Linked DNA regions of Homo sapiens: regions 2, 3, 4, 5, 6 and 7 are each linked to region 1. Evidence: promoter capture Hi-C in 16 types of primary human blood cells and fetal thymus (Javierre and others, 2016). All regions are on one chromosome and are shown on one strand. The core of a region is centred on a gene start or on the middle of the fragment in contact, and the rest is flanking DNA. Distances in the headings are between cores, read along the strand shown. Region 1 holds the start of CWC22 (CWC22 spliceosome associated protein). Region 2 has its middle 1.6 kb from the start of RBM45. Region 3 overlaps ITPRID2 (ITPR interacting domain containing 2). Region 4 has its middle 35 kb from the start of NEUROD1. Region 5 overlaps TTN (titin). Region 6 overlaps ITGA4 (integrin subunit alpha 4). Region 7 holds the start of ITGA4 (integrin subunit alpha 4).

Region 1 (3,015 bases), core at 293-2,792:
TTACATATATATCCTATTTTTTATATATATCCTTATATATATATCCTAATATATATATCTATATATAAGGATATATATATAAAAAGGGGAGTTTATTAAGTATTAACTTACACAATCACAAGGTCCCACAATAGGCTGTCTGCAAGCTTGAGGAGCAAGGAGAGCCAGTCTGAGTCTCACAACTGAAGAATTTGGAGTCCAATGTTTGAGGGCAGGAAGCATCCAGCATGGGAGAAAGATATAGGCTGGGAGGCTAGGCCAGTCTTGCCTTTTCATATTTTTCTGCCTGCTTTATATTCGATGGTAGCTGATTAGATTGTTCCCACCAGATTAAGGGTGAGTCTGTCTTCCCCAGTCCACTGACTCAACTGTTAATCTCCTTTGGCAACACCCTCACAGATACACCCAGGATCAATACTTTGCATCCTTCAATCCAATCAAGTTGACATTCAGAATTAACCATCACCGGTAGTATTGTGGGTTTTTAAATATATGAATACAAATGTTCATCTCCAGATCCATCTCCTGTGCCCTGTATTGGTGCACCAAAATGCACCATCAACAATGGCCAAATATCTTAAATATGAAATAAAATAGATAACACTATTGTATACTAGCAATTATCTTAAATGCATCTTGTGTATCAACTAATTCAATTCTTAAAACTACTGCCTGGATGGATACTATTGGTATTTCCATTTAACAGATCAGGAAACGGCCACAGAATGTGAAGTTACTTGCCCCAGTCATCCATAAATAATAAAAGGACTCAAGATTCAAAATAAGTAGTCCAACTGCAGTGTTTTTATTCTTAATCATCACACTCTGCCTCCAGAAAGGAGTGGAAGCACAGCACCCTAAAACTGTAATAGAGAAGTGTGTGGAGAAACCAGTCCTGGTTTATGAAAGATTTGATAACATAAAGATATTCTTGGTTTAGGAAGAGAGTTTCCAAAATAGCAAGTAGTTGAACTTTTAGGTTTTGTTACTAGTGAAAAGTGAAGTTTAAAGAAACTGTTTGATGCCCTAGTTCTGCACGCTGTACAAACTGCTACTTCCTACTCAGCCAGGCAATCTCTTTATTCTCAGGTCATACCAGTTGGTACCTTAACCTAAAAGAGAGGCAACACAGTCTCTATAGAATTAGTTTTTCCTCATTATTTCACTCTATTTATGATTTAATATTCTCCCATTCTTATGGCCTGGATATCTTGGAATTTATTAGGCACTTAACTGTTGGTCAAACTCTTATAAAGTCTCAGGAAAATCTCTCTCTTAAGATTTTTCAAGGAAAGTGACAACTGACTGCTTTTTTAAAAAAAATTTCCCCAAAATGCAGTGAAATAGTTTTAAAGTAAATTCGGCTAGACCCTGAACACTACTAGGCTGCCAGTGAGCAGCGTGGATGTTAACTCGCTGGCGCGCATCTGTATGAACTACAATTCCCATCGTACACCGCGCCATTTCACGCTAAACTACAATTATGCTTTCCTCATTTCCGTCAGCACAGGCGCTGGATTTCGGACTTTGTAGTTCATGCCAACTTCTCTTTTTTGTCGCCATTTTGGCAACAAGACAGTGTGCCTGGATCGACTACTTTGACTCTGGTATTATGATATGGTATTTGAAATAAATTAAAGGGATAACGTGTCAAGCCAATTGAGCGTCAAGTTTTTAAATATTTCACTATTCGCCTTCTTCCTACCGTCGGTGCTCGGGAAGAGGAAGTGACGTACGTCCGGTGTAATGGCGGCGCGGTGGAGCTCTAGGTAATTATCGAACTCCGTGGAGTCCCCGCAGGCAGAGACGCGGAGTGGGGGTGGCGGGTCGCCGGATCGGGTGGGAAGTAAAAGACCCCCAGGAGTGGGTGCGGGCTCACTGATACGGCTGTGAGCGGCATTGGAGTGTGCGTGGGTCTTCTCGCTACGCTCGGGCCCGCAAGAGGGGTGTGAGAGCGGCTAGGTCCAAGCAGGTGGGGAGGGAATGGGCTGCCATGAACTGACTGCCTGAGCGGACCGGCTGACCTTCCTTGTGAAGTTCCTGGAGCTGTCTGAAATCCTGCACCAACGCTGGTGCTGTGTTGTTTCTTGTGCACTGCGTTTTATACTTAGAGCCTCTGGAGTCCATTGGGGCTTGCCAAAGCCCCTTTCCTAGTGCCCGGGTCCCAGGGTCAGGGGAGTGGGATTAATGAGATCTAGTTGATTAAAAGTTAGTTGAATTACTTGCACTCTTATGCCTCTTGCCGGCATTATATCCCTTTGACTATTTGTTTTAAATTTCATTAGCGTCTTCTTTTTCATTTATTTGCCCTGTAAATACTGATAGTGTCTAGTGTTTAGTCTTGAAGACACTTCGCTTCTCATGTGCCCGCTTCATCTGTCATTCTTGATCCTTCCATAACTTGAACTATCTCCAGTGAGGTAATAACTGCCAAACTTGGGTCTCCAGGCTCCACCTCTCTAACGAGCTCTGGGTCCTACAACACAGCATTATATAACGGAAATATAATAGTTAATTTCACTGAGTTTAACTGCAAAAACCACGGTACCTATTTCCATTTAATCCTAACAATTCTTCTGAGGTAAGTGGAGAAGGCAGGATTTGGAGAAAGGCTATTCTAGATGCAAGAATTAGGTAAGAGTTTCCTTTGCATTTTTAGATGTGCAGAGACTCGAAATAGCAGATAAGCAAGCAAACTTGGTTCTCAGCAGATCAGTTAACCTACCTCTTATCTGTATTTAGACTTACCTTGTTTTAGGATTGCTTGTGAATTCAGGAGTTAACATAAATTATCATCCTACTATGGAAGGGCAGATTTAAAATTGACATTAAAAGTGTGGTTTTGACCAGGAGAGGAGAAGCATTGTTACAGGCGTTATCAGTAGGTGGAGGAAAGCCACTTGTGTTGGTCCTGGGTGATGGACTAGTAGACCAAAGATTTCTGTTTTATCCAGCTATTATTAGGTCTGTCACTTGGAGCAAGTTACCTAAAGTCTCTAGTGTCAGCTTCATCAT
Region 2 (3,015 bases), core at 1-2,500, 1.9 Mb after region 1:
GCCTTCCGGGGAGCGGCCTGCAGCGCCCCCTGGCGACGCGGGGGACCCTGACCCAGTCTAAGTCTCAAATCCTCAAATCCAGCTGAGCCTAGGCCCAAGTTATCAGTTGTGCAATCGTTCCCTGCAGGCAGAACAGCGCTGCCTAATGCACAGGCTTTCCCAACGCTGGCTTTACCCCACCCCTAAGGCCAAGGATTCTTTCCAGTGTTAAAGAAAAAATTATTCATGACACTCGTTAGAGATGGTACAGGAAGGCCGACTTTGACAAAGGGAGCCATGGAGATAGGTCCAGGGACAGCTGCAATGGGGTCTTGCAGTGGGAGAGAGAGATTGGACTGAATTTTGACTCTAATAAGGACAAATTTCTAACCAAGAAGCTTGGTGGGAGGTCAGTGGATGGAAAATTACAAAGAGGGAACATCAGTGTTAAGGAGGATTCTGGCTAAACCAACTTGACAGGATAGTTGCTGAAGGCAGGCCAGGGTGATTGATATCCATGGTAGTCAGACACCAAGAATGAGGATTTTCACTACACTGATTCAGCAGGATTCTTGCTCAAATTGGATTCTACAAGGACAGAAAGCCCAAGATCAAGCCTAGTCAAGCAGAGGACTCAAAGGAGCCTAACTAAGTTTTGGTCAAAGTGGAGAGTTGTCACCATCTTGGTCATAAGCTCAATAGATGATCAATATAGGACAGAGTTCAAACTATATAGCATTAGAGTTGGAAGGAAGCTTTGAGATCATTCAATTTCAGCGTCATTTGTTAGAGATGAGGAAACTGAGGCCTATAGCATAGCCAAAGTAATAGAGATAAAAAGTACGACTAAAACCAGAACTAACTTGGCCAGGCGCAGTGGCTCACGTCTGTGATCCCAGCACTTTGGGAGGCCGAGGCGGGCGGATCACGAGGTCAGGAGATCGAGACCATCCTGGCTAACACGGTGAAACCCCGTCTCTACCAAAAAAATACAAAAAAATTAGTTTGGCGTGGTGGCGGGCACCTGTAGTCCCAGCTACTCAGGAGGCTGAGGCAGGAGAATGGTGTGAACCCAGGAGGCACAGCTTGCAGTGAGCAGAGTTTGCACCACTGCACTCCAGCCTGGGGGATAGAGCGAGACTCCACCTCAAACAACAACAACAACAACAAAAAACCCAGAACTAACTCCATCTGTTGATTTACTCAACTTCTACAAGCAACCCTGGGGTTGGAGGGCAGTGAGGGTGGACTGCTCAGCTGTGGAACTAAGAGAAATCATAGAGTGCAAGCAAAGTGGGAAATGCCTTCTTGTTAACAAGCCTTAGAGGAGAGGTCAGAAACCCAGTAGAAATCCAGAAACAAGGCCTGGATTTAGCAGTGGCATTGGAATGAAGTGAAAGGAATAAACCCCTAAGTAGACCGAGGGCGGAGTTCTTCAAATGAACAAGTTCTGGATGCTAAGACCTAGGTTGCTATGAAGTCAACCAGATAAATACTTATTGTACTCCAACTGTGTGCCAGGCTCTATGCCAGGAGCTAGATATATAATGAGGAACAGGAAAGACATGTCCCGAGGGCTTGTTTTCCCCCACTGTGGAAATCTTACATGTAAATATATAATGCAAAGTAATATCAGATTATGTTACATGGTTTTGCTACTGAATTGTGTGAGCCTGGACAAGTTACTTAATACTTGCAGCTTCGGTTTCATTAACTGTAAAGTAGGAATAATATTACCTACTAAATAGGTAATACATATTATTTTGTGGTTGGATTAGTTAAGCTTGATAGCCGCCTAATAGCTACGCAGGAGCATGACTATCAAGTTTAATTAATTCACCCATTCACTTAATAAGTATTTTTGACTATCTACTATGTGTTAGGCACTGTGTTATACTGAAGGGATGTAGTATTGAACAAAATAATTACTCTTCTTCCCCCACAGAGTTAATCATTTAGCCTTATATAGTTATGCTCATATAAGATAATATATATGGAGTTCATAGTTTAGAGATCAAATGAGATAATATTTGTATAATGGTATAATTGAGATTAATTTTCTTGTTCCCTTTGACTATGGTATCCACTCCCCCACCACTGATATTATACAGTTGTGTGATGACTACTGAGAGTCAGGGATTGTGGGTTGTCACCCTGGATTTAGCACTAAGATTTTTATAATTTCTCCTTGTATTACATTCCATATCTGTAGTGAGGGTTCTGTTTACCCTGAGGCTGAACAACTCTAGGAAGTATCTTTTCTTGACTTTCCATTTCTCTTTTTCCTACCCACAACAATCAAGGTAAATGAAAATAATTTGATAGTGTGAGTTTTGTTGATGAGAGGAACTGCAAAGCAATATTATTTGCAAACCAGTGCCATCTAGTGGAAAATGTGTAATTTTCTTAAATTGTCCTGACTGGGCAATCTCTATTCTTTGTGAAATAAGACTACTGATTGGTGTCCTGAAAATTTTAGGCTGTTATTGAGAACAGTTAATTCTTTTCTCAAAAAAAGATAAAAGATTGCATAAAACAAAACCAGGAACGCAAATATTGGAAAATGCCAGAAAAGCAAAATTTCTTTACTATCCAATTATGTGAAATATGACATATTCAAGGAAAATTAGAAATTTACTTATAAATTAAAAAAAGTAAGTACATTTTCTTCATGACATGTATTTATTTTAAACAGATTTATTGAGATATAATTCTTCTTCTTATCTTATTTTTTCTTTTCTTTTTTTTTTTTTTTTTTAAGGGATTGGTGTCTCACTATGTTGCCTAGGGCAATCTCGAACTGGCCTTAAGTGATTCTCTTGCCTACGCCTCCTAAGTAGCTGGGATTACAGGTGAGACCCACCACACCCAGTGAGTTCTAATTCTTACATCATACAATTCACTCATTTGATGTATTCAATTAAATCGTTTTTAGTGCCTTCACAGCATTGTGCAAGCATCATCGCAATCAATTTTAGAACATTTCATCACTCAATGACCAAATTGTTATATTTCAAATCATAAAACCTTTGAACA
Region 3 (3,015 bases), core at 375-2,874, 1.9 Mb before region 1:
CCCTTTCTGATGAAACTGTAATCTTCTCTCTTTGGCCAAGATATTATTGCTACGAACAAAATCAGATTATATAAAACTTTATAACTTTATTTTCATTAAAGGTCTTCATTTTTTAAAAGAAATAGAACAAAACAGCTACATACCAGTTTTCAATTTGAGCATCACTTTCATGGAGGTGGTTGGCTACAGGTAAAAACAATAAACGTAGAGCACAATTGTTAGTAGGACTATAACTACTATGATACAATTATCAAGAAATCTAATTACCTACAATATTAGAATTAAATGCCAAATATATTAAACACTTATCTTGGTCCATTAAATCTGCATTATTAAAAGTGATATACAGATAGATAAGAACAGGGCCAGGAGCTTTTGAAGGGTGTTTTTGTGTTGTGGCAACATGAAACTAACTACTCTCACTTGAGTGCTTAAAATAAAAAAACGTATAGGGAACCAGTTAAATTTCTTTAACAGGTTAGAAATAAGTAATGAGGAAGATATGTACCATATATGTGGTACTAATTATTAAATTTAAAAGCTATTAATGAATAATATCTTAAGAGGAAAACATGATTTAACATTAAGTGTGGCAATAGTATATGTCAGTTTCTAATGTGAATTTTTTTTAAGGTTATAACTGATTTTTCACACATATAACATGAAAATTTCTACTTATTTCAATATAAACTTTCTTTTAAAAATTGCCTTTCAACTTTATGATAGAACTTTAGCTTAAAGTTCTAAACAGGTAAGTGTTAATGTTTAAAGTTAAATTTATAGACAAATACAAAGAATAAAATTAATTATAAACACATCTATTTCAGCACACATGAATTGCTTTTCATTTCTGATCTACAAAGTTATGACAATTTTGTGTTTCTTTGTACATCCACCAGAAAGGTGCCTAACTCACAGCACTCAGTAATTATTTACTTAATGAATGGAAATAGCCTTGAAATAATTTTCAGTAAAACAACATAATAGATTTACTCTTTCATGAGACTCCTTTTTAGGTTCTGGTTTCCAATAAAATCATTCAATATTATCAAACTACCAAGGCAAATATCAAAAGTGCAAAGTGCATTTTAATAACGGATTGACAACATGTTCAATTGTACTGAGTGGGAATCAGTAAGTTTAAGCTCTTTATAGAGCTTGAAAATATATGAACAGAAATAATAAGAACTAATATATTTGCATATTCCAGAGTTTTAAATGTTAGAAGGTTCTAAATAAGTAATTTACTTTACAGATGCATTTGAAACAGGAAAAAATCAAGAATATTAAATTCAATGTATAAATTCACTATTCACCAACTTGTAAGCTTTAAAGACTTTTTAAAAATCCTTGTTTTTTTTAAAAAAGTACACATTAATAACTGAGCTATACAGCTATGAATAATCTATGCAATTTGATCAATGAGCTATAAAATAGCTTTTAAAACACCAGTAAAATAATTAAAAATTCTTATTTTTTGTACAAGAAAGCTTTATTATAAATCTACTGGAAAACATTACATAACTTGTAAAAACTTTTAAATAGCACAACACACTTTTTAAAATCTAATGCTTTCTGGAATAAACACCAGCATGATTTCTAATAAAATTCTATTAGCTCTGCTATTTTGTCTTTCCCCTTTAATTTTCTAAAAATCAGGAAAATGGGGAAAAGACAGGAGACACTTAAATGCAAAGAGAAAGACAAGCTGCAGCTGTAAGTATGACATAAGTCTATTTTGCGCTAAAAATAAGCTTCAATTTTGTTTTCCCATGTATAAATATTTAAGTGTCCTTCCTTTTTCAGGACAATTCTTCCCTCAGTTATATTACCACGGTTTGTTACAAACTGTTCCTTTAAGCATTTAGTCCAAGAAAGACAGATGGACACTTCACATAGTTTTTCAGAGTCATCCCTACATGTATCCTACAGACTATGACTAGATTATTAACAAAGAAAGGTAATGTAAAATATGCCTGAGCCATTTTCAAGACCTTTAAATTTAGCTTGAGGATCATAAACCTGAAACCATTCAGCTTTCTCATTTTTTTTAAATTTGAAAACTACACAAAAATACAGTTCTTCCAAACAAACATACCTTCAGCTCCCAATGACAAATCATCTTCAAAACTTCCTCCATTTCTCACAAGCACACCTGAAAGACACATTTGAAAACTCATCCTGGTGTTCTGTTCCTCTCCACCCTCATATAAAATCACTGTTTTAGTTAAATTCACCCAGCAAAATATCTTATACAGTAAAATCTTTCAGACTTGAATGTACTCAGACATTATTCTGATTATATAACTTCAAGAAGCAGGTATAAGCTTTTACTTTAACGTAAAGAAACCACTTTTCCAGCAACATAAAGTTCTCAGAAGCCAACCTATAGGCTGTTTTAAACTTATATTTTTGAAGATGTTCAATCAGACTACATACCAAGAGTTTCATGGAAAACCAGATCCTGGAGCAAATATTCTTCTTATCCATCTCATATTAAGTCAGGAGCTGGATTTTCCTGACACTGTAAATGTTTTTTTATATGCCTTGCCACTGCCTGCACATGCTTGTTGTACTTTGAACTTTAGAATTCTGTCTTGAACAGGTGGTAAAATTTTAGGTGTGGCAATTTCAGTAAATGTAAGCAAAGAAATGCTGCACGAAAGTTGACTAAACTTTTGTTCACTCAATAAGTATTTTCCTTATATTTGCATATTATATATTCATATTTAATTAGTCTTTATAATACCTAACTGGACAATAAAGATATAAGTTTCACGTTGTGAAAAGGCTAGGCAATTTGCTTAAACTCCCTACTGTTTTACGGTTTATAACAAAGTTTCTCCATTTTGCTTCTAGCTCAGAATAGCATATACTATAAACATGAATATCACTTTTATAAGTCATATATACACTTTTACCCAGAGGACAAAGAAGTAGAACTGTCATAAAGAACAGATTTAGAAAGGCAACCTTCTCTTACCCTTGAGTGTACTACTGCTTTGTTCATCCAGT
Region 4 (3,015 bases), core at 156-2,655, 1.7 Mb before region 1:
CGTACAGTGTTTCACACACGTGATTTCTCTGATACCCCAACAATCCTATTTGGTGGCTATTACAGCCATTTTTCAGCTGAGTAAATTAAAGTTCAGATAATTTAAATGAATTGCCCAGAGTCATATAGTCAGTGACAGTGTTCAGCCTGGAACCAGGGTTTCAGACTCTAAGCCGTATGCTTGTCCCTGTTGCTGGTGCCACCCACTTGCTGGTCATCCCATTGACTTGCCTGCGGGCCTGTTAGCTGGCCTCAGCTTCAGGAGACCATTGCAGCACCATGTTCTGTGCACCCACCTCTGCCTGAATGAACAGAGTGAAATATGTCATTTATTTCTGCTTCTGCTGTGTTGTAAGTGTGTTTTCAACATTATTTTCAGAGACCATGGCTCTTTATCTCTAGGCTTGATCCTAAAAACAATTGTGAAGAGGACAATGGTAAATTCCCGGATTCCTCCAGGCTCATCTGTGGCAGTGCCAGTCTCTCCCACACTCACCCTCTGAAGTCTCAAGGACCTGTGTTGTCACATGTGGCCCAAGCAGTTCCAAGACTCTCGAACCATTAAAAAGAACTTCTGCACTCCAGAGAATCATTCCGGGTTCTGCCCTCTGCCTTCAGTTCCAAATCTTTTGCTCTCTGAATCTTCTACTGAATTATTGGCTTGATTCTTGATTGGAGGTTTATTTCAGGTCTGTGCCATAAGGATATTTTCAATTTAAGGGTAGTTTGAGGTTTCTATCAAGCTTGTCGGGTTTAGAGGGTGAATGCCTGAGTTAGAATTCATTTCTATAAGTTTACTTTAAAGGAGAGTGTAAGACCTTGGGCAAATTATTTCATTCTCTGTTTTTGTTTCCTGATCTGTAAAATACAGATATTAAAAATACTCATTCATTTAAAAAGTGTCCATAGGTTGTTATGAGGATTACGTGAAATAACCCATGTAAAGCACCTGGTCTGTTGTAAACACGTAATTACTATAAGATACTATACCTTCTGTGTATACCCTCTTTCTGCCCACCTGTCATAAGCCCCATTCAGACTCTAGGAAACCCAAACCCATCATTGATGGGGCGGCCAGGGCCTCAGTTTATACAGAAATGGAATTTAGCTTAACATGTTACCTCTTTCAGGATTGAAAGGAACTCTGGGATTTAAGATTCCTCAACCCAAGGCATACATTCTAATGAGAAAAGTTTAGAAAGAAAGCCCATTTGTGAGTGAATGCTGCAAGATGGTAGAAAGCATTTGCCTCCATGTAAAAGCCAAGCAGTTTACCTCCCAGTTATTCAGCGAGGCCATGCCAAATGCTCAGTGTAGGTTAAACACCACATCCAGCACAGAAAGGTGGCAGATACATTATGACAAACACATGTATATGTGTGTGTCTTTATAGCCCAACTCTGCACAAAGAAAAGGTGGAGCTTACTCAAATAGAATAATTACAAGCTGAGAGGATTTGAAAAATAAAAGTCATCTAGTAAGCTCTATTTGTCTTTCTTATGTGGTTAGCTATGGGTCTACTATTGATTTCTTATTAACAACCTTTTATTTTTAAAATGGAGACTGTATAAATCTATAAGACTGCTTTCCCTGAACCAAAACCTTGGGTACAAAATCTGACAAATGTTTTCCCCCCTACTTTTTATATTCATGCATTTGTAAAGCATTGTGAATGCTTATAAGTTAAATTCCACTTGACCACATATTTAATGAAGCACCTAGTAAAGAACAGAACATAAATATCTAAAATGGGAAAATCACCAGAGAATCTGAATACCAAGGCAAAAAACCTGAAGGGATGGTGCCATAGTTTCTTGTCTCCTCCACAGCAAAAGCTCATTTTCCAGCTCACAGACACTTTCAAACTGGAAGGATTTTGAAGAAAAATCTGCTACCATCTTTTCTATATCCTGTGATAAACTACAGTTCTCATGAAGACAAAGAGTTTGGTCACACAATTGGAGCTGGCAGAAACATTTTTTTCAGCTCCTTATTACCAAACAAGATGGAGTCAGTCAGTGTTCTGTTGTGAGAAACTTGCCTTTCAGTCTGGTTGGTTTATAAGCTTTTAACAAACTGTCCTGAAGATGGCGCCACGTGCTTAGCTATGTTTTCTACCTGTATCATTTGGTGATTTCTGAAACCACTGTCTAAGGAACATACACAGACTTATGGGAAGATCTGTAGGAAATGCCACCTTGAAATGATATTCCTGTGTTAAGTATAGATATAAAACTAAGTCACCCAAGGAACAATTTGATTCAATTATCTTTAAATTTTCAGTTAGGAGAAGGAATTACGGAAAACAAATACAGTCATTGCTGTTCTGAGGTACATCAGTGGCATTTTCTGAAAGCCAAATTCCATCTCTAATCTTGTACTTTCTCCTTTGTTCCCTATTTGTAGCCATCCATCAAGTGGTCGAAGTCAGAAATTTGAATGACGTCTTTGATCCTTCTTTCTATTTTAACCTTCCGTACCAGAAACTCCACATCCCAATCAATCTCCCAGTCCTATCTGTTCTAATCCCTAAATGTCTCAGTTGTGTCCATGTCTGTCTCTGTCCATTCCCACTGCTACCAGTAAAGTTCAACAGCACCATTACCTCCTCCCTGCAGTATTGCACGAGTAGGTTAACTGTTTCCCCTTTCACACAGCTTGCTCCTCTCAATCTGCTCTCTTCATCTAGAGTGATCTTTCAGAAAGATAGACCTGATCATGTAATGCACCCCCCCACCCATTTACAATCTTCTATGGCTCCCTAGTGCTTTCAAGTAAAATCCACACTCTTGTAGTCTACAAGCCTTTTTTAGAATCTAGCTGTCTCCCAGTTTTCTAGCTTCATCTTGCAACAACAACTACCCCACTTGTTGTTTAACTTCGGTCATAAGATTTCTTTCCAGTTCCTAGTATGTTCACATCAGGATTGTTTATTTTTCCTGATCCTGCTTGTGCTCCAGCAGCAGCTGCAATTTACTCCTCTTCTATAGGCATAGCCACCACACCTCCATCTATC
Region 5 (3,015 bases), core at 339-2,838, 1.5 Mb after region 1:
TAGGTTGGCTTTTGTTTTTACCCACATTTCTTCAGAAGATAATATTAGGGAAATATTTTCAAACATCCCCCCTTATATACACATACAAGAAAGTATTAAAATAAAATTATTTTCCTAATTCCAGAATACAATTTGTACACCAAAGCAGAAACACACATTTGAAGTTAGCATATGCTTTTCTATGAGCATAAAAAGCAGTTATTAAGTACCTAGTTATATGTGGTATTATATAAGATTCCATAGTGTCAGCCCCTGCTCCCAGGAATATTTAAGAATAAAGTCAGTGAATATACAAAATGGCACTACTTGCCTAAACCTTCACAGTTGCTAATTTTCCAAAGCAGTGCAAAGTTAATTAAAGAACTATTTCTATTTTACCAATTAAAATTAGTTTGCTTTCATTTCAATCTTCTGAAAGATAATTTAATGTTTTGGTTACTCAAAATCTCCCAAATCCACTTATCTCCTAAATCCGTTGACTATTCTTTTCAAGACTTTTTTCCTTAAGTCATATGAATCATCTTTGGCTCAGTTTAGTTTAAGGAATCATTACAGTGATCTCAAAAGTCACACATGATAATTTTCCAAAAGTGGAACTGAGAAAGTATTAGGTATTACCTACATTGCATGAAGAAGTTGACTTTTTTTCTTTTTATGTTTTTCACACGCAGAATCTAGAAGAGTAAAAGGTGGGGGTCTCTTTCTAATTAAGTTTGCCTTACAGAGGTTTCTTTTTTAGCTATAAAAGATACTGAGGCACAGAAAGTCTCTACACAAAAGACTTCTGAAATTACACCTCAGAAGAAAGCTGTTGTCCAAGAGGAAATTTCCCAAAAAGCCCTAAGGTCTGAAGAAATTAAGATGTCAGAGGCAAAATCTCAAGAAAAGTTAGCCCTCAAAGAGGAAGCTTCAAAGGTTCTGATTTCTGAAGAAGTCAAGAAATCAGCAGCAACCTCCCTGGAAAAATCCATTGTCCATGAGGAAATCACTAAAACATCACAGGCATCAGAAGAAGTCAGAACTCATGCTGAGATTAAAGCATTTTCTACTCAGATGAGCATAAACGAAGGTCAAAGACTGGTTTTAAAAGCCAACATTGCTGGTGCCACTGATGTGAAATGGGTACTGAATGGCGTAGAGCTTACCAACTCTGAGGAGTACCGATATGGTGTCTCAGGCAGCGATCAGACCCTAACCATCAAGCAAGCCAGTCACAGAGATGAAGGAATCCTCACCTGCATAAGCAAAACCAAGGAAGGAATCGTCAAGTGTCAGTATGATTTGACACTGAGCAAAGAACTCTCAGATGCTCCAGCCTTCATCTCACAGCCTAGATCTCAAAATATTAATGAAGGACAAAATGTTCTCTTTACTTGTGAAATCAGTGGCGAGCCATCCCCTGAAATCGAATGGTTTAAAAACAACCTGCCAGTAAGTTTAATTATGAATATATTATTGAAGAAAAACTAAAATACCATGTCTTCCACATCTGAAGAACTTCAACATTTCTTTTCTTTTTCCTTTGTCTTAGATTTCTATTTCTTCAAATGTCAGCATAAGCCGCTCCAGAAATGTATACTCCCTTGAAATCCGAAATGCATCAGTCAGCGACAGTGGAAAGTACACAATTAAGGCCAAAAATTTCCGTGGCCAGTGTTCAGCTACAGCTTCCTTAATGGTCCTTCGTAAGTATCTCCTCACCCTTCTTCCTTACATGTTTAAGGCCTTTAGATCGTTTTTTTGCCTCTCTTTCAAGCACAGAAAACTCTAAGAAGCCTTATTAAATTCCATGTGAAAGAGGGACAGCCAACTGATGTGAATTCATTCTTGTAGTCAAACTTTCTTTATAGCTACACAGAAACTTGGATAGATTACATTTCAAAGTAAAGCTACCAACTGCCGTGTAACATTTATTTGCAGGATGCACAATATGTCAATTACTTTCTATATGACTAATCATTTTTCTCCTAGTGATTCCTAGCACCTGCATGTAATGTAATGATAGAAATATAAGGATTCATGTTTTGGAGACATTGAGCTAGCTCTTGACAAATGTATGTATATATGTATTTGCTTATGCTTCAACAGCAAATTGTTTGGGTTATGCTGCTGTGTGTGTGTTGAAGTTTCCATTTCTGTAAGTCAGCGTCATATGTCATCAATTAACCAGATGTCATTGATGTTCACTGTGTATCTGCTATGCTCCACAGCTCTAGTTGAAGAACCTTCCAGAGAGGTAGTATTGAGAACAAGTGGTGACACAAGCTTGCAAGGAAGCTTCTCGTCTCAGTCAGTCCAAATGTCTGCCTCCAAGCAGGAGGCCTCCTTCAGCAGTTTCAGCAGCAGCAGTGCTAGCAGCATGACTGAGATGAAATTTGCAAGCATGTCTGCCCAAAGCATGTCCTCCATGCAAGAGTCCTTTGTAGAAATGAGTTCCAGCAGCTTTATGGGAATATCTAATATGACACAACTGGAAAGCTCAACTAGTAAAATGCTTAAAGCAGGCATAAGAGGTGAGCAATAAAATTACTGGTAGAGGTAGACAAGCCAAGTAACATGGTGTAGTCTTTAGTACACACAATTCAGTAGAAAGCAAATCTTTATTTTTTTCAGTGATTCTAAGACCTTTTTTTTGTCATTGTTCCATAAAGGAATTCCGCCTAAAATTGAAGCTCTTCCATCTGATATCAGCATTGATGAAGGCAAAGTTCTAACAGTAGCCTGTGCTTTCACGGGTGAGCCTACCCCAGAAGTAACATGGTCCTGTGGTGGAAGAAAAATCCACAGTCAAGAACAGGGGAGGTTCCACATTGAAAACACAGATGACCTGACAACCCTGATCATCATGGACGTACAGAAACAAGATGGTGGACTTTATACCCTGAGTTTAGGGAATGAATTTGGATCTGACTCTGCCACTGTGAATATACATATTCGATCCATTTAAGAGGGCCTGTGCCCTTATACTCTACACTCATTCTTAACTTTTCGCAAACGTTTCACACGGACTAATCT
Region 6 (3,015 bases), core at 226-2,725, 1.5 Mb before region 1:
AAACTTGAACATAAATTTAAAACACTAAAAGGTATTCACTTACTTATCTTTATCTAATTCGTATCAAAATCATGCCTTACCTTGATAACACGGAGCTATTCTTTTACTCAGTTCTGTTCGTAAATCAGGGGGCACTCCATAGCAACCACCAGTGGGGAGCTTATTTTCATTCTTTATGTAAAATATATTTTTCCATCTATGCCCACAAGTCTGAATAAAATAAAAGTAGACCAAATGATGTGAAAGCTGCACCCAGGATAGCTGATTTCACGATGGATCTGTGGACCAGTTCCAATACCTACCACGATGGATCCATTTTCTCCTGGCTGTCTGGAAAGTGTGACCCCCAACCACTGATTGTCTCTCTCTTCCAAACAAGTCTTTCCACAAGGTTCTCCATTAGGGCTACCTATAGCATGTGAAAATAATTTTATCAGTTGTATTGAAAACATTCTACAAAAGAAGAGAAAACTGTGCACTCATCCCCAGTATTTTTCTGTTAACTACTTCTCTATCTTATATTCAGTGCACAATGTGAGGATAAATGTGAATTACTCTGTGCCAACTAATTATTCTCTAATACAAGGTGACTTTGGTTGTAGAAATGACCTCTGACTGGTAGCACCATAAAAAGATAGACTCAATCATATAAGAGATAGCTAACAGGACTAGGAGTGGGGAAAACCACTTAAAGCTAATACCAGGTTGTGCAACTATAACTGCTGTGTCTAACGTTTGGAAAAGAATTAGCCATTTATCTAACAACGTAAGCAATATTATCAGAGCACTTTTAAAAATGTTTCTTCTACTGAGATATTAAGAATAGAAAGACTATAATACATCCTCAGCAATTAAGGTACAATTTATTGGAGCTGGAAGGTGATGATTAAGCATGCAGAAAGTGGAACATACAATTAGCATACCAATAATGCCTTGCGTTTATAAGAAACTGCCCTATGTTTACATTTATTGGAATATGACTCATGTTTTCAACAGAGATAAAAGTGATTTGGAAACCAGATTATCTCAGTAGTAAACAAAAAACTTCAATAGATACTTTGGCAAATGCATGAATAGCCAAACATAAATAAAATGCTCATGTACTAGATAGTACTTCTATACTATATAAGAAGTGGTCTTCACAGTGATCATTATTTTCTTTTGTTAGAAAAAATTATTTGTGTTATAGCTGGGTTCCTATTAAAATCCCATGTTAAGTAATTTTAAATAAGTTACTTTGGGGAAGAGTAAGATGCAGTATCCTAATATTCTTTTTGCTGTCTTTCTTTTCACCCTCTTCAGTTGGCATATGACAATTCTATTGCATCTGTTCTTAATTCCTGGCAGATAAATACATTAGCATCAATTTGATTGGATAAGGATGTGGAACTTCGGTTTGTTAATTTTGAACACTAGTCACTAGGTACCAAGTTTTCATGAATTTATGGTGACCATTCTCTATATCATTGGCACTTTGTCTCCTCCTATAATGTTGACCCCTAAATGTAGCTTCCTGGGCAAACTCAGAACACTTACAGAGATACAAACTAATATTTTTATTTTGGTACCAATGGGGGTCTCACTATGTTACCCATACTGGTCTTGAACTCTTGCCTCAAGTGATCCTCTTGCTTTGACCTCCTAAAGTGCTGGGATTACCAGCATAAGCCACTATGCCTGGTAAGGCTAATATTTGAGAAGTGAAATTATTTGCACTAAGTCTCCTGGGTAGGAGAGATTTTGTTTAAGGAGTGTGGGAAGATGTTTGTTTATACTTTCGTTTTCTAAAATGTCATTCAGGAAAAACAAAACCTTTAATCACAACTGAAGTGAAGAAAATGTTTGAGCTCCTCCTCTGGAGATTCTGCTCCAGCAGATCCAGGTGAGGCCCTGATTACCCTAGGTCAGTGGTTCCCAATCTTTTTGGCACCAAGGACTGGTTTCGTGAAGACAATTTTTTCCATGGGCAGTAGTAAGGTTTGGAATGAAACTGTTCCACCTCAGATCATCTGGCATTAGATTCTGCTAAGGAAAGCACAACCTAGATCCCACGGCTGTGCAGTTCGTAATAGGGTTTGCACTCCTACGAGAATCTAATGCCACCACTGATCTGACAGAGGCAAAGCTCAGGCGGGAATGCTCACTGGTCCACTGCTCACCTCCTGCTGTGCAGCCCAGTTCCTACCAGGCCACGGGCCAGTACCCATCCACAGCCCAGGGATTGGGGACCCCTGCCCTAAGTGGTTCTCATGGTCAGGAACACTGTTACTGTGAAATGCAGAGAATGTTTTTCTCGACAGCATACACATAGAATAAATGGCAACCCCCACTAACTGGTAATGGCTTCCTGGAGAACTAGACTGAAGGGAGGAGGACTAAGACTAGGTCTGGACAAAGAATGCTGGGGTTGATTGGCAATGGTTGCTATTAGAATTGGAAAGGAGTCTTGCTGTGGCCCAAACCTTGGTAAAGAACAGTCCAGGTGGACACATAAGGTCTCCGTGTTAACTTGAGAAAGGAAGGGATGAAGAGAGAAATGACACGAAAAGAGAAGGGGAAAACAGAGGGAAGATGGTAGGAGAAAAAAAATTGTGTGTGGGAGATAGGTAAGGTCTAAAATAGGGAGTTGTTATTGTGGCTACCTAATGCCAAACCAACAAAATTTAAATTAAAAGAGAATGACAAACAAGGCATTTTAATTTTCATTATAATACAATTTTCAGTTTTCACTAAAATCAATTGTTTACTGTCAAAAATAGATAACAAATGGTAGATTCAGTCTACATGAAGTTCCTGTTATTTACTACAATAGCCATGTTAATAAGTTCCCTCTGAAAATACTAAAATTTTTATGAATTTATAGTCAACACTCAGTTAAGACAATTGAGCAAGAAGAAAATTAAGGACAGGAGAGGATGGGGGTCACAAATAATATGGCGTGTATAATAGACACTTTCATTACGATTACATCCAATATTTAGAAACAAATCTATTATTCTAGAGAGAGCCACCCAG
Region 7 (3,015 bases), core at 334-2,833, 1.5 Mb before region 1:
AGTACACATTTTTCAACTTGTCACAAATCTGAGACATTGAGAAATGACTGCAAAAAGATGGACCCATATAACATGAGTTTTGGATGACGGTTTTGGGAATGGAAAATTATACTACATTAACGATGAAGATGCCAATTTTCCTTTTCTTTTAGATTGTATATTGTAAGTAAAACTATCACTTTTTTTTTTAGGCCTTTAGGTTAAACGACGGGATATGGGATCAATTCCAATTGCTATTCCTGATATGCTCCTTAGCCTGTTCTTTAAGAGGGTTGATAGGTCAAAGATGGAAATAAAATTCTCAAGTCTTGGCTTAGCTGGATCCTGTCCTTAATACGCTGAGAGAGTCTAAAATGTGCTTTACACACGGAGAGACGGGGAGAGATGAAGAGAAGGTATCATAAGAAATTTCTCTAGCATAGTTGTCAGAGTACTGCAATCATTGCCATAAGGAAAAGGGAGAACGATATTAACAGAAAGGGAATCCCTTTTATATTAAGGAGGCAAGATGAGATGGAGTTGAAACTGAAAACTTTATGCTCTTTAAACCAGAAGTAACAGGCAACGTGAATCTTTCCAGGACTTGCCCTATGGTGGGGTCCACATGGGGGGTCGGGAGGTCACTAACTCCTGGTCCCATACCCAACTCACCCAGCTGGAGCTGTTCGCACGTCTGGCCGGGATTCTTTCCGATCCTGCATCTGTAAATCGCCCCGGGATTGATCACTGAAGCGTTGGCGAGCCAGTTGGCAGTGGGCGCACCCACTAGGAGCCTAAAGCGAGACACGTGCACGTGCGCTCAGACGTGAGCTGTGCTGCCCACTGAGCTCCCTGTCGCCACAGATGTGCAGTCCGCAGCAGGGCAGCTTCCCCACCTCCTCCTCCGCCCACCACCCCCGACTCGAAGCTCCAAGACCTTGCACCATAACGCACCCGGGGCGCTGCCGCCCCAAGATAAGTTAGTTTCCCTGGCAGATTTCCAGCGAGCTGGCTCTCGCAGCGTTTCCCTCCTGCCTCCTTGGGAGGGAGGAAAGTTTGAATCGGGCAGGGAATCCCTAGGGCGCCATTCTCACGCCGCTCTGAGCTGCTGAGGGCGCATCAGTCCAACTCTACTCACCATCGGTTCGCCCCGTGGCTGTGCAGCACGACCGAGTAGCCGAACAGCGTGTTGTGGGGGCCCTGGTAAAGCAGCGCGCTCTCAGTGTCCACGTTGTAGGGGCGGCCGGTCGGGACCCCCAGGCACAGCAACAGCATCACCGTCTCCCGGACGGCGGCCCTTCGGGGGCCGGGTTCGCGCCTCGCTTCCCAAGCCATGCGCTCTCGGTGGGGAACATTCAACACTAAACGGCCACTACCCCAAAGTTGCACGGGATGCGACGGTTGGCCAACGGGGAAGAACGCCCCAAGAGATGAGGCGCAGCGTGTCCGGCGCCAGCGGGCTAAAGGAAGGAGAGAGGGAAGAGGAGGGGAAGTCGGCCCACCGCGGGCGGAGCGTTCGGGCCGGCCTGGGATGCCGCGCACTCGCCCGGCCCCACTCCCGGTTTCTGCCGCCAGCCGGGAGCTTCGGGTGCTCGCGCTGCTTCTCCGGGTACGGGCCGCTGGGTGGGGTCCCGGGCGTGGTGCGGAGGCGCAGGGCCGGGCTCCGTCTCTGCCTACGCGCGGCTGCAGGGGGCGCTGGGGAACCTCGGCTGCGCAGGACTCGCGTCCTGGCCCGGGCCTCCCAGCCCGCAGAGCGCGGGATGGCTCTGGGCTCAGCAAGAGCGGACCTGATGGGGCACGGGCTTCCCCTTTTAACGGTGGTTGGGGCCTAGAAGCGGAGCTGTGTGACCCCAAACTGCGCGCCCCTCGCTGTGACCGCCCAGCCCGGCGTGGCCCAAATGCCAGCCACAAACTCGGGGAGTGGGACTGCGGCGGGGAGCCGTCCAGTTCTTTCGTTGATAGTTAAACACTGTGTCTTGTTTTTCAGGTGTAGGCAACCACTAGATAAATTATCAAGAGCCACAGATTAAAAACAAAAAACCAAACAAAAAGACTCGCCGAAGGCCCCTGGGGAACATTTTAGTGACAAAGACGTTATGGCTATTCTCTTCAAGACCCACATCTCAGCACCCTTCTATACCCACTTCCTTCCTCCCCACACTTCCTCTGCAGCCCGGGCTGCATGCGTGAGCAGGCTAGCAGCAGCCTCTCAGGCTGAACGGCAGGCGGTTTAGGCTGTGGCTGACCCCAACAGAGAGGTTGGGTTAAGGAAGCACTGTGACTTGATTCACTTTAACCGATTCGGATTGCTCCAGCTGGTAATTGATGATCCCCCCTTTTCACGCACCCACTCAGTTGCCACGGGACACACCTGCTTTTAGGGGTGTAAACCCCAGTGTGGGGTCAGGGTCCTAATGAGCCTCTGAAATGTGCCGGAGACCCACAACGCAACACACCTGAACTGGGTAGTGAGTCTCATTCTAATGCAATCCAGGTGTGCCCTGCCTTTTTTTTTTTTTTCCTTCAGCAACCAGAGAGACAGCCATAGGTGATTATTAGACTGATATTTTCAGGAGATGAAAGTCTAGTTTTTTATTGTTGCTATATGTAAAAAGAAAAGAAAAGTCTGCATCAAAGAGTGTGTCTGTGTGCTAAAACCATGCTGGAATAAATAACACATCTGACACTAATGACAGATACACAATTAAAATGCTTATTCATTTATTCAGCACATTCATGGAGCAGGCACTTGACTAGGACCACAGGATTCCACCAAGAGTAAGGCAGGACTGATACAAAGTTTCAAAAAATGTTCGCTCCAATGGTAGATAGAAAAATTTGTACTAACTAGAGAAAGATCCAGGTAAGGACACTTAAAGAGAGATTTGAAGGACCAGGAATCTTGAATCAGGCTAAGAATGGGATGAGCAATAAGGAGGGCTCCAGAGGAGCCAGGTAGAAGAACTGAGAGAGCTTGCCTGGCTAGAGTATTTAGCCACTCCACACACAGGTTGGTGTGATATGAGGCTGACTTAG

What was found. The method cuts DNA at HindIII sites, captures the fragments that hold promoters and counts their contacts. A CHiCAGO score of 5 or more calls a contact.
Region 2: a contact is called between a fragment that was not itself captured here and the fragment with the promoter of CWC22 in region 1, in 2 of 17 cell types (activated CD4 T cells and naive CD8 T cells). The highest score is 5.3, in activated CD4 T cells.
Region 3: a contact is called between a fragment that was not itself captured here and the fragment with the promoter of CWC22 in region 1, in 8 of 17 cell types (total B cells, total CD8 T cells, non-activated CD4 T cells and 5 more). The highest score is 12.9, in total B cells.
Region 4: a contact is called between a fragment that was not itself captured here and the fragment with the promoter of CWC22 in region 1, in 2 of 17 cell types (total CD4 T cells and total B cells). The highest score is 5.2, in total CD4 T cells.
Region 5: a contact is called between a fragment that was not itself captured here and the fragment with the promoter of CWC22 in region 1, in 2 of 17 cell types (non-activated CD4 T cells and monocytes). The highest score is 6.9, in non-activated CD4 T cells.
Region 6: a contact is called between a fragment that was not itself captured here and the fragment with the promoter of CWC22 in region 1, in 1 of 17 cell types (monocytes). The highest score is 8.1, in monocytes.
Region 7: a contact is called between the fragment with the promoter of ITGA4 here and the fragment with the promoter of CWC22 in region 1, in 4 of 17 cell types (total B cells, naive CD4 T cells, non-activated CD4 T cells and 1 more). The highest score is 7.8, in total B cells.

Annotation. Positions count from the first base shown.
Region 1 is chr2:180,005,824-180,008,838 of GRCh38, reverse strand. It overlaps CWC22 (CWC22 spliceosome associated protein), which reads left to right and starts at 1,542. Exons shown (of 20, transcript NM_020943.3): 1 at 1,542-1,972. RefSeq lists an enhancer at 1,862-2,394. The HindIII fragment of the contact is 3,569 bases long and covers 149-3,015 here.
Region 2 is chr2:178,109,377-178,112,391 of GRCh38, reverse strand. No RefSeq gene overlaps it. Among named protein-coding and RNA genes, the nearest start is that of RBM45, 1.6 kb to the left of the region's middle. The HindIII fragment of the contact is 1,028 bases long and covers 737-1,764 here.
Region 3 is chr2:181,896,048-181,899,062 of GRCh38, reverse strand. It overlaps ITPRID2 (ITPR interacting domain containing 2), which reads right to left. Exons shown (of 18, transcript NM_001130445.3): 3 at 2,984-3,015; 4 at 2,099-2,155; 5 at 144-183; 6 at 1-49. Among named protein-coding and RNA genes, the nearest start is that of ITPRID2, 5.8 kb to the right of the region's middle. The HindIII fragment of the contact is 264 bases long and covers 1,493-1,756 here.
Region 4 is chr2:181,714,297-181,717,311 of GRCh38, reverse strand. No RefSeq gene overlaps it. Among named protein-coding and RNA genes, the nearest start is that of NEUROD1, 35 kb to the right of the region's middle. RefSeq lists an enhancer at 2,157-2,206. The HindIII fragment of the contact is 1,322 bases long and covers 745-2,066 here.
Region 5 is chr2:178,526,944-178,529,958 of GRCh38, reverse strand. TTN (titin) reads left to right here. Exons shown (of 363, transcript NM_001267550.2): 360 at 740-1,431; 361 at 1,532-1,685; 362 at 2,211-2,513; 363 at 2,652-3,015. The coding sequence ends at 2,947. The region is part of intron 1 of TTN-AS1 (TTN antisense RNA 1); the gene reads right to left. Among named protein-coding and RNA genes, the nearest start is that of TTN-AS1, 5.3 kb to the right of the region's middle. The HindIII fragment of the contact is 1,358 bases long and covers 910-2,267 here.
Region 6 is chr2:181,472,354-181,475,368 of GRCh38, reverse strand. It overlaps ITGA4 (integrin subunit alpha 4), which reads right to left. Exons shown (of 28, transcript NM_000885.6): 3 at 303-409; 4 at 81-210. Among named protein-coding and RNA genes, the nearest start is that of ITGA4, 16 kb to the right of the region's middle. The HindIII fragment of the contact is 5,302 bases long and covers 1-3,015 here.
Region 7 is chr2:181,455,954-181,458,968 of GRCh38, reverse strand. ITGA4 (integrin subunit alpha 4) reads right to left here and starts at 1,583. Exons shown (of 28, transcript NM_000885.6): 1 at 1,118-1,583; 2 at 652-773. The coding sequence starts at 1,314. RefSeq lists enhancers at 537-586, 947-996, 1,057-1,246, 1,967-2,076 and a silencer at 1,397-1,786. The HindIII fragment of the contact is 9,740 bases long and covers 1-3,015 here.